2 separate regions of the Homo sapiens genome follow, and region 2 is linked to region 1. Evidence: promoter capture Hi-C in 16 types of primary human blood cells and fetal thymus (Javierre and others, 2016). All regions are on one chromosome and are shown on one strand. Each heading gives the region's core, a stretch centred on a gene start or on the middle of the fragment in contact. The rest is flanking DNA. Distances are from core to core; before and after follow the strand shown.

The links. The method cuts DNA at HindIII sites, captures the fragments that hold promoters and counts their contacts. A CHiCAGO score of 5 or more calls a contact.
Region 2: a contact is called between the fragment with the promoter of ICOSLG here and a fragment that was not itself captured in region 1, in 1 of 17 cell types (total B cells). The highest score is 6.5, in total B cells.

What each region holds. Positions count from the first base shown.
Region 1 is chr21:44,109,687-44,114,798 of GRCh38, forward strand. PWP2 (PWP2 small subunit processome component) reads left to right here. Exons shown (of 21, transcript NM_005049.3): 3 at 4,067-4,161; 4 at 4,493-4,592; 5 at 4,939-5,082. Among named protein-coding and RNA genes, the nearest start is that of PWP2, 4.8 kb to the left of the region's middle. RefSeq lists a silencer at 1,427-1,629 and an enhancer at 4,302-4,596. The HindIII fragment of the contact is 821 bases long and covers 1,739-2,559 here.
Region 2 is chr21:44,238,508-44,243,619 of GRCh38, forward strand. It overlaps ICOSLG (inducible T cell costimulator ligand), which reads right to left and starts at 2,436. Exons shown (of 7, transcript NM_015259.6): 1 at 2,297-2,436. The coding sequence starts at 2,310. RefSeq lists enhancers at 913-1,691, 4,196-4,734 and cis regulatory regions at 2,247-3,246, 2,247-3,171, 2,247-3,162. The HindIII fragment of the contact is 2,685 bases long and covers 865-3,549 here.

The DNA.
Region 1 (5,112 bases), core at 899-3,398:
TGTGGAAACACTGCTTGGAGAAAGTTGGTCGGTGCCATTTTTCCAGCAGTGGGGGCTCACTTCATGTCTCTGTGTCACATTTTGGTAATTTTGTGATATTTCAAAGTTTATTATACCTGTGAGGGTGATTTGTGATCATCTTTGCTGTTGCTATCGTGATTGTTCTGGGGTGCCGTGATCCGTGCCCATGTAAGACAGCGAGCTTAATCGGTAAGCACTGTGTGTGCTGTGCCTGCTCCACCGACCGGCTGTTCCCCACCCCCCCACGTCTCTCTTCCTCTACTTGGGTCTCCCTATTCCCTGACACAAACAATGCTGAAATTAGGCCAGTTAATAATGGCCTACAGTGGCCACTACGTGTTCATGTGAAAGGAAGAGTCACACAACTCTCACCTGAAATCAGAAGCTAGAAGGGACTCAGCTTAGTGAGGAAGGCATGTCAAAAGCTGAAATAGGCCAAAAGCCAGGTCTCTGCCACCAAACAGGCAAGTTGTGAATGCAAAGAAAAAGCTTTTGAAGGAAATTAAAAGTGCTACTCCAGTGAACACACAAATTACAAGAAAGCCAAAATAGCCTTATTGCAGATACGGATAAAAGTTTGAGTGATCCAGATAGAAGATCAAACCAGCCACAACATTCCTTTAAGCAAGTCAAAGCCTAATGCACAGCAAGGCCCTACCTGTCCTCTGTTCTGTGAGGGCTGAGGTGAGGAAGCTGCAGGAAAGAAGTTGGAAGCTAGCAGAGGTTGGTTCATGAAGTTTAAGGAAAGAAGCCATCTCTACAACATAAAAGTGCAAAGCGAAGCAGCAAGTGCTATGGAGAAGCTGCAGGAAGTTATCCAGAAGATCTAGCTGAGATCATTGATGAAGCTGACTACACTAAACACAAAATTTCAATGGAGACAAAACAGCCTTCTATTGGAAAAAGATGGCCAGGCGCAGTGGCTCATGCCTGTAATCCCAACACTTTGGGAAGCCAAGGTAGGCAGATCATTTGAGGCCAGGAGCTTGAGACCAGCCTGGCCAATATGGTGAAACCCCGTCTCTACTAAAAGTACAAAAATTAGCCAGGCATGGTGGCACATTCCTGTAATGCCAGCTACTCAGGAGGCTGAGGTGGAAGAATTGCTGGAACCTGGGAAGCAGAGGTTGCAGTGAGCTGAGATCGTGCCAGTACACTCCAGCCTGGGCAACAGAGCAAGACTCTATCTAAAAATAAATAAATTAAAAAAAAAGAAAAAGATGCCATCGAGGACTTACATAGCTAGAGAAAAGTCAGTGTCTGGCTTCAAACAACAGGCTGACTCTCTTATTAGGGGCTAATGCAGCTGGGGCCATTAAGTTGAAGCCAGTGCTAATTCACTGTTCTGAAAATCCTAATGCCCTTCACAATGATGCCCAAGCTACTCTGCCTGTGCTCTATAAGTGGAACAGCAAAGTCTGGACGACAGCACATCTGTTTACAGCATGGTTTCCTGAATCTTTCCAGCCCATTGTTGAACCCACTAAGGTTCCTTTCAAAATATTTCTGCTGTTGGACAACGTACCTGGTCACCCATGAGCTCCAATGGAGACGCATAAGGAGATGCTGTCTTCATGCCTGCTAACACCACATCTCTTCTTCAGCCTACGGGAGTAACTTTAACTTTCAAGTCTTACCATTTAAGAAATATATTTTATAAGGCTCTAGCTGCCAAAGATAGTGATTCCTGTAATGGATCTGGGAAAAGCCAATAAAAAGCTTTCTGGGAAGGAGTCGCCATTCTAGTTGTCATTTCATGATTCATTCAATGAGGGCAAAGTGTCGACATTAACAGGAGTCTGACAGAAGTTTAGTATCAAGCCTCATGGATGACTTTGAAGGGTTCGAGACTTTGGTGGAAGAAGTTACTGCAGATGCAGTAAAGATAGCAAGAGGATTCGAAATGAAAGCAGAGCCTGAAATGGGACTGAATTGCCGCAATGTTGCCATCAATCTTGAATGAATGAGGAGCTGCTGCTTGTGGATGAGCAAAGCAAGTGGTTTCTTTTCTTTTTTTTGAGACAATGTCTCACTCTTGTCCCCCAGGCTGGAGTGCTATGGCATGATCTTGGCTCACTGCAACCTCCACCTCCTGGGTTCAAGCAATTCTCCTGCCTCGGGCCCCCCTACCAAGTAGCTGGGATTACAGGCGCCTACCACCACGCCCAGCTAATTTTTGTATTTTTAGTAGAGAAGGAGTTTCATCATTGTTGGCCAGGCTGGTCTAGAACTCCTGACCTCAGGTGATCCACCCGCCTCAGCCTCCCAAAGTGCTGGGATTACAGGTGTGAGCCACCATGCCCGGCCAGCAAGTGGTTTCTTGAGATGGAATCTACTTCTGGTGAGGATGCTGTAAAGACTGTTGAAATGACAACAAAGGATTTAGAATATGACATCAACTTAGTTGATAAAACGCTGGGAGCATTTGTGAGGATTGACTCCGGTTTTGAAAGAAGGTCTGTTGTGGGTAAAATGCTATCAAACAGTATCACATGCTACAGAGACATCTTGTGAAAGGAAGAGTCCATCGATACGGCAAGCTTCACTGTTGTGTTAGGAATTGGCAACGGCCACCCCGTTTTCAGCAGCTGCCACTGTGCCTGGTCAGCAGCCATCCACATCGAGGCAGACTGTCTGCCAGCAAAAAGATGAAGACTCACTGAAGGCTCAGATGATTGTTAGCATTTTTTAGCAGTAAAGTGTTTTTAAATTAAGGGATGCACGTTGTTGCTTTAGACAGAATGCTTGTGCACACTGATAGACTACAGCACACATGAGTAGACTGCAGCGCACACCAATAAAGTACACACTTCGACGACAGTACACACGAACAGACTACAACTCACACGAATAGAGCACAGTGCACGCTTACAGACTACAGCACACGCTAGTAGACTACGCCGTACTGTTTACAGTATGGTGTAAACACAGCTCGGCTGCTTATGGGGAAGCTGGAATGTGTGTGCCTCACTCAGTTGCAGTGTAAGCGTTATCTGCAGCATCTCCGCGGGATTCCTGTAGCCCCTTATTTTCCATTTTTCTAGCAACAGTGTTACATGGGTGCACTGTCATGGTGGTTAATTCCTGTTGGGCACTTAGCTTGCTTCTGGTATTTTGATGTCACACTGAGGCGGAATAATCCTCTCATCATATCATCCTGGAAGCAGAATTGATGTATCCAAAGCCCATTTTTAAGGCTTTTAATGCATTTCACTAGAGTTCCTCCAGGGACAACGTCATTTCTTTTTCTTTTTTTTTTTGAGACAGAGTCTTGCTCTGTCACCTAGGCTGGAGTGCAGTGGTGCGGTCCCAGCTCACTGCAACCTCTGCCTCCCAGGTTCAAGCGATTCTCCTGCGTCAGCCTCTTGAGTAGCTGGTATTACAGGCGCCCACCACCACGCCTGGCTAATTTTTTGGGTTTTTTTGTTTGTTTGTTTGTTTTGAGGCAGAGTCTTGCCCTGTCGCCCAGGCTGGAGTGCAGTGGTGCAACCTTGGCTCACTGCAAGCTACACCTCCCGGGTTTACGCCATTCTCCTGCCTCAGCCTCCTGAATAGCCGGGACTACAGGCGCCCGCCACCACACCCGGCTAATTTTTTGTATTTTTAGTAAAGACGGGGTTTCACCGTGTTAGTGAGGATGGTCTCAATCTCCTGACCTCGTGATCCGCCCGCCTTGGCCTCTCAAAGTGCCGGGATTACAGGTGTGAGCCACCGCGCCTGTCCAATTTTTTGTTTTTTGTTTTTATAGTAGAGACGGGGTTTCACCATGTTGACCAGGCAGGTCTCGTACTCCTGACCTTATGATATGCCCGCCTTGGCCTCCCAAAGCACTAGGATTATAGGCGTGAGCCACCGTGCCCGGCCAACAATGTCATTTCTTTTTCAGGAGTGGGGGGTATCCACAGATGAGCTCTGGCTTGTGGGGTCCAGTAAGATTGGAGGCGCTACTTGGGGAGGGTGAGCCGCTGGTCCCAGGCCAGGCCTGGCCTGTCTCCCTCATGTGACTTGAGGACCAACAGCACACTGTGGTTTTTGTCTTTATCAGCAACAAATCTGACACGCTGCCCCTGGCCACTCGGTACAACGTCAAGTGCGTGGGGCTGTCCCCGGATGGCCGCCTCGCTATCATCGTCGATGAAGGTACTTGCCCTTGATGTGGGCGGGTACTGAGGGGACCAGTGAGGAGGACTCAGGGCTGTGTGGGTCTGAAATGATCCGCTCCCCAGTCGCCTCCGTGTTGGGGCCCGGGTGGGGATTGGGGATGAGGGTGTCATGGGCGAGGCTGCGTCCCCGCCGCAGGCTGTGTCTGTGGCATCACCTGTGGCAGGGCAGGGCCTCATGGCCCTTGGGCATTCTCAGTCCTGACTCCTCACAGTGGACGCGAGAAAGACCTTTCTCCGTTTTTCCCGTGCTATGTATCTGGGGTGGCCCCTGGGGTAGCTGCGCGGTGGTGACCTCTGGCGTCCTGCAGGGGGCGATGCGCTGCTGGTCAGCCTGGTCTGCAGGTCTGTGCTGCACCACTTCCACTTCAAGGGCTCTGTGCACAGTGTGTCCTTCTCCCCTGATGGCAGGTAAGGGGGACAGCTTGGGGGCAGGAGGGTTCGGCCGTGCATGCCGACGGTGAGGCCCACTGCCCAGCTCGTTTCCCTGGGCCCCGGGTTGTGACGTTGGGTTGGGCACACGGCCCAAGCTCTGGCATTGGTGACCCCCTTTTCTGGAGGAGAAGGCTTGGTGCGGCCAGGCTGCCCTCCCTCCAGGGCTGTTTCTTCCCTGACTTTTGCTTCCTCTGCTCCTTGGCCTCCATCCTGCAGGAGGCGGGACTCCAGAAGGCCCAGGTGGGTGCAGGCTGAGACTCCACAGTGGCCTTAGGGCCATTGCTGGTCTTGAATATCAACTATGTCCGCGTTCCTTCCATAGGAAGTTTGTTGTCACAAAGGGTAACATTGCCCAGATGTATCATGCCCCTGGGAAGAAGCGGGAGTTCAACGCCTTCGTTCTGGACAAGACCTATTTTGGGCCCTACGATGAGACCACCTGCATCGACTGGACGGATGACTCCAGGTGCGGCCTCAGAGGCTTCGGGGGAGCGGG
Region 2 (5,112 bases), core at 1,186-3,685, 130 kb after region 1:
AGGCAGGTGAGGCGGGGCCACCAGGGAGTTACCTGTATCTTCCAAACAGGAACAGGCTGGTTCCCATGAGCAGGAGGTAGTTAAGCCCATCACAGAAATGTGAAGGCAGAGCCAGGAGCCTGCCTGCCTCTGTTCTCCATGGGAATTCGGGGTCCGGGGCCAGGACCACCACCCTCCTGCCCAGCACAGCAAGTCCGAGGGGCTGGCAGCCTCTCACCACTCTCTAGCTCTCGCGGTAACAAATCCCCAGAAACACAGTGATGCTGGCGTGAGGATGAAGGGGAGCGAGGGACGCCAGTGAGGCTGGTCTAGCCTTCCTGGGGACAGATGCCAAGAAGTTGTAGGAAATCAGAAAAAAAAAAAAAAAAAAAAGCTTTCAGGGCACATATAGTAGGAGTGTCACTTAAAATGCTGGGGAGACGGAGAACATCAGGCGTGCCCGTGACAGGGTCAGGTGAGTGACGGGACAGCCCTGTGCGGAACGCGGATCATTTTGAAACCAAACCTGAGCTCCTCCTGTTTCAGATCCTGCTGCAGCTGGTGCCCCTGCCTCGGGCAGCAAATTCCCCTCGTGACTCCAATGCCCCTGCCATCTTGGGTCTGGGAGCCTTTGCACCCTGCACGCCACAGGCTCGCCACCTCCTCCCGCCAGCCCCCAGGATGCCTTCCCCACGTGGGGGCCCTTAGTGGCCGGGACCACTTTGGTAGCAGTGCTTACCCCAGCCCCCCAAACCATCAGTTTCTGGGGCCAGCTCCCCATGAAGCAAGAGCCCCAGGAGCAGGGACATCTCCTTCTCTGATGTCCCTGCACCTCCAAGGTCTGGGAGACGCTCATCCCTCTTCTCTGTGGCCTCTGCCTGGGAAAGCTTGGGGGCTTTGTAAGTCAAAGGTTGGTCTTGTGGGAACCTCCCAGTGGGCTGTCCCTGAGCCCTGGAGCCACAGAAACCCCTGCCCCACCCACGATGGCTGTCATCTGAGTCTGCATGGAGGTGTGTCTGTGCCAAGTGAGCACACATGCACCAAGGCGGCCCCTGGCCACCAGGGGCTCTTGAAGTCTGCAGGCGGCCCTTCCTCTCTCTCCCACTCCCCCTGTTGGGGCCACCATTCTGGCTGGCAAGATGGCTGTGATGGCCTCCAGCAGGCCCCCTGCCTCCACCCTTAGCCCCTTCAAGCATTTCCCCAGAGCCACCATCTAAACGACAGCTGTGAGAACTCCTCTGTGCCCCCATTTGTCTCCCACAGTGCCCATATTCATCACCAGCCCACAAGGCCCCTCCTGTCTATGGAGGCCTCCTCAGGACATCTGGGGGCTTCCTGGGCCAGGGTGGGGGGTGCCTGCTCCAGGCTGTTTCTGGCTTGTCCCCTCCCTGGGTGCTGCCTAAGCAGCGGCCTCTGTGTCCTTTCCTTGGACCCTCAGCACCCCTGCATCTAACCTACCCCCACCCCGAGCTTGCCTCAAGACCCAGCATGGACAGGGCCGCCTACCTGAAGGTGTGGGTGGCGGAGGGCTAAGACATTTGGGAGGGCTATGACATTCCGGGACCTTTAAATTCTTTCTCTCTAGGGCAGGATCATAACTGCATACACTTCTAATGGGGAGGGGACCTGGGGAGTGTGACTCCGGTGTGGCCCAGCTCTGAGCTGTGCGGGAGGCATCCCTGGGGTCAGGGGCCTCACAGGTTCACCCAGGGGAGCACAGGCTGCGGACCCTACAACGTGGGTTGCGAAGAGTATATTTTGGATATTTTCGCAAAAATCCAGGAGGAAGCTGTCACTCCTGGTTCAGGCAGCCCCGCCTTCCCCAGTGTGGATCGGCTGCCGGGCTGCGGGGAATCCCACGTGTGTGGGGGAGGGCGTGTCCGCAGACCGTGGGCACCAGCTGGCCTTGGAGAGCGCTCGGCCGGTCACCTCCCTCCTTCTCCCTTCTTCTAGGAAATCAGCAGTGCCAGGGAGTGGAAGGGGCAGCGCCCGTGCCCCGGCGTGCAGGGTGCGCCCGCCTTCCCTCCCTCCTTCCAGCGTTCGCGGTCCTCCTTCCCTGGCAGGGACCCCGCCCCCGAGCCCGCCCCCGCACGGCTGTGCGTCCTGCCATGGGTCCCGGTGCCAGGCCCCGCCGCCCACTGCCGTCCACGCCCCGCCGGCCGCCCCGGCGCCTCCGCCGCCCGCTCCTCGGACCCGCACTGCCAGCCCGGCACCTCCAGGCGAGCCCCGCAGGCCCCGCGTCCGAGCCGAGCTGGGGACGCGCGGGCCGAGCCACCCCGCCCCTGACCGCGGCGCCTCCGCTCCTTCCCCGGCTCACCTGCCCAGCCGCATGGTGCGGGCGGAGACCTCGGGCCGCGGAGACCTCGGGGCGCGGAGACCTCGGGGCGCGGAGAACTTGGGCCGCGGGAGACCTCGGAGAGGAGCAACCTCGGGGCGCGGGAGATCGGCTCTAACTGCGCTCCCGCCGCGCCCGAGGCTCTGAGCGCCCAGCGCGCGGTGTGCTGGAGGCAGCCGTGTCCCCGCCCCGTCCCCGCCCCGCCCCCGGCCTGGCTCCTCTGGCGACCGAGACCGCCCCGGGACAGGAGGCGGGGCGCTGCGCGGCGGCTCCGGAAAGTTCGGCTCTGCCCAGGCGTGTGCCCGTCGGCCGGAGGCGGGACAGAGGCAGGTCGGCCTGTCCGCCTGGACGCGGACCTGGGCGCCGTAGGTGCCCTGGGAAGCGCAGGGGTGGGGGGTACCCGGCAGGAAGGTGGCCAGGGGTGCTGCGGGTGCCGGCGCAGCGAGGGAGGGCACCGTGGGAGGCAAGGGCCGTTCCCCGCGCCGCGCACAATGCGCCGGTCCTGCGGCCCTCCCCGAGCAGGAGTCCGGGGACCCAGGCCCCAAGGCTGGGAGAGCGCCAGGCCCCTGGCCGGCTGCGCTCCGATGATCTCCAGGACTTAAGGCGAGTGAGCTCAGCGACTGCTGAGGAATGAATGACTGAATGAACGCATGCATGAATGGAAGGAGGGAGGGAAAGTGGGCGGGCTCTACCCTCTGGGCCAGCCCCAGCCCGCCCCCACCTAGCCTTGCTCCCCTAGCCTTCTAGGGGTGTGAAGGGCGCTGGCGCAGCCTCTTTGCTTAACACTGGCTCTGAGGATCCCCCGCCGAGAAACCGAGGCAGGCTTGCGGCTCTGGGCTCGTCAGCCTTGGCAGTGGCGTCTGGCCTGGAGTCTGGGGCAGCTGGTTTGGGAAAGGCTGCACCACGCAACCGAGGGTGGGACCCAGAGTCCCTGCTCCTTCCCCACCGCACCCAGCCCACCCCGCCCTCCCTCCCTGATCCCTGCAAGCCAGGTGAGGCCCAGGGGGGACGTGACTCCCTTTCTGCAGAGGCACCTCCGGAAGGGCCTGGGTGAGGCTGCTAGACAGGGCAGCGGGGCACCCTCCTCCCGGAGCCCCCGCCTCTGGGCTGAGGCTCGGATCCCCACCGCCTCCTGCGCATGGAGGAGGCGAGAAGCGCAGGGAGACGGGGGCCCCAGACGGCACCCCGCAGGCTGCCATTCCTTCAACCAAGATGTAGAGAACGCCGTGGACAAAAGCTTTAAAAAAATTCTGAAACCTCTGCCCGTGGGAAGTCAACATTTTTGCGGAGCAGAGAGCCCAGGCACAAAATAAGAAGGCGGAAGAGACGGGCTGGGGGGATAGGGGGGACGGCGGCGGGGAAGGGCAGGGAGGGCGGCGGCGAAGGCGCAGGAAGCCCTGAAGCCGGGCGGCTTCCCCCTCCCAGGCCACGCTGAGAGACGGGGGTTGGGGGGATTTAAAATCGCGCGCCTGGCAGGGGCGGGGCGGGGGCCACCTGCCCTCCGGCGGGAAGAGCTGGGCAGGGCCCGCGGAGTGCAGGGCGGAGGCACTGGCGGTCCGCACCCGGGTGAGGTGAGGCGCGTAACCGCATCTGAGCCGGACTCTTTAGGACGAGTCCCGTCCCTGGAGTCAGAAAACCCGGTCCAGCGCCAGCGTGGACGTGCGCTTCCCGGGACACGCCCAGGGACGCCGGCTAGGACCGGCGAGGCTGGAGGGGTGGCGATGTTGGGGGCTGAGGTTCCTCGCCCCGGGGCGGGCGGCTGCTGGTAAGGGACCGCATGGCCCCGCAGGTGAGGAGGGCGCAGGTGAGGAGGGCGCAGGTGAGCCGGGCGGGCTGCGGGCAGCGCCACCTCCTCCCGGAGGCCCTCCCTGATTGACCGGCCGGGAACCGCGCGCCTCTGGGCCTGCGGCTGAGGTCCGGGGCTGCGCCGCGCCGATGAGCTGACGCCGGGCCGAGCGCTCCACCCCCAGGGCCGGGCGCACCTGAATCCCCTCCACCCGCGGGACTGCGGAGAGGGGGACGGCCCCCGGATACCGCGTGGGGGCTTTGGGAGGATGGGGAATGGGTCCTGGGGGAGCAGAGCCTCCCAAATTAAGGCCTCCCAAGAGCGCGGCCGGTCATCCGCGGCGGCGAAGGGAAGGTGCCCTGTCGGTGCGTCCGGACCCCGCAGCCCCCCAGTGCCGCCCGGGGGCGGTGGGAGAGGGGCCGACACCGCAGGGCCCGCCGTGCTGTGGCCGAGGGGGCAGGTCCAGGCTCTGCTTCCCGGGCAGACGCCGGAGACCCCAGCAAGCCAAGTGCTGCGGGCAGCCCCCCCCCCGCCCCCCCGAGAGAGGGGACGCCGCGTGGAGGCCACAGCCAGGCAGGGGCAGGAAGGCAGCTGGGCCAGAAGGGGACACTGAGGCAGGCCGAGGCGGCCGCGGGGGAGGGTGCCAGGACCAGCCCAGGAACCTCGGAGACCACGGTAAGCGGTGGCTGGTTCAGATCCCAACTCCGGAGCTGTGTGACCCCAGAAAGTTCCTTAGCCCCTTGGTGCCTGCATCCCCTGACGTGTGACATATACATGAATGGGGCTGTTGTAAGTGAACGCACACAGCACACCGGCACATGTGTCACAACACTTAGATGGGTTTAGATGAAGAAACAGGGAAACCTTTGGGAAGTTTCCTGTAGTCAAAGGAAGGTTTTCGTTTTCCCCCTCAACCGTGACTGTTTCTTGGGCCGGCAGGATAGGCTTTTGTTCTAGGGGTGTGGAGAGAGGGCCCCTTGGCAGCGTCCAGGGCCAACTGGGAACCAAGCAG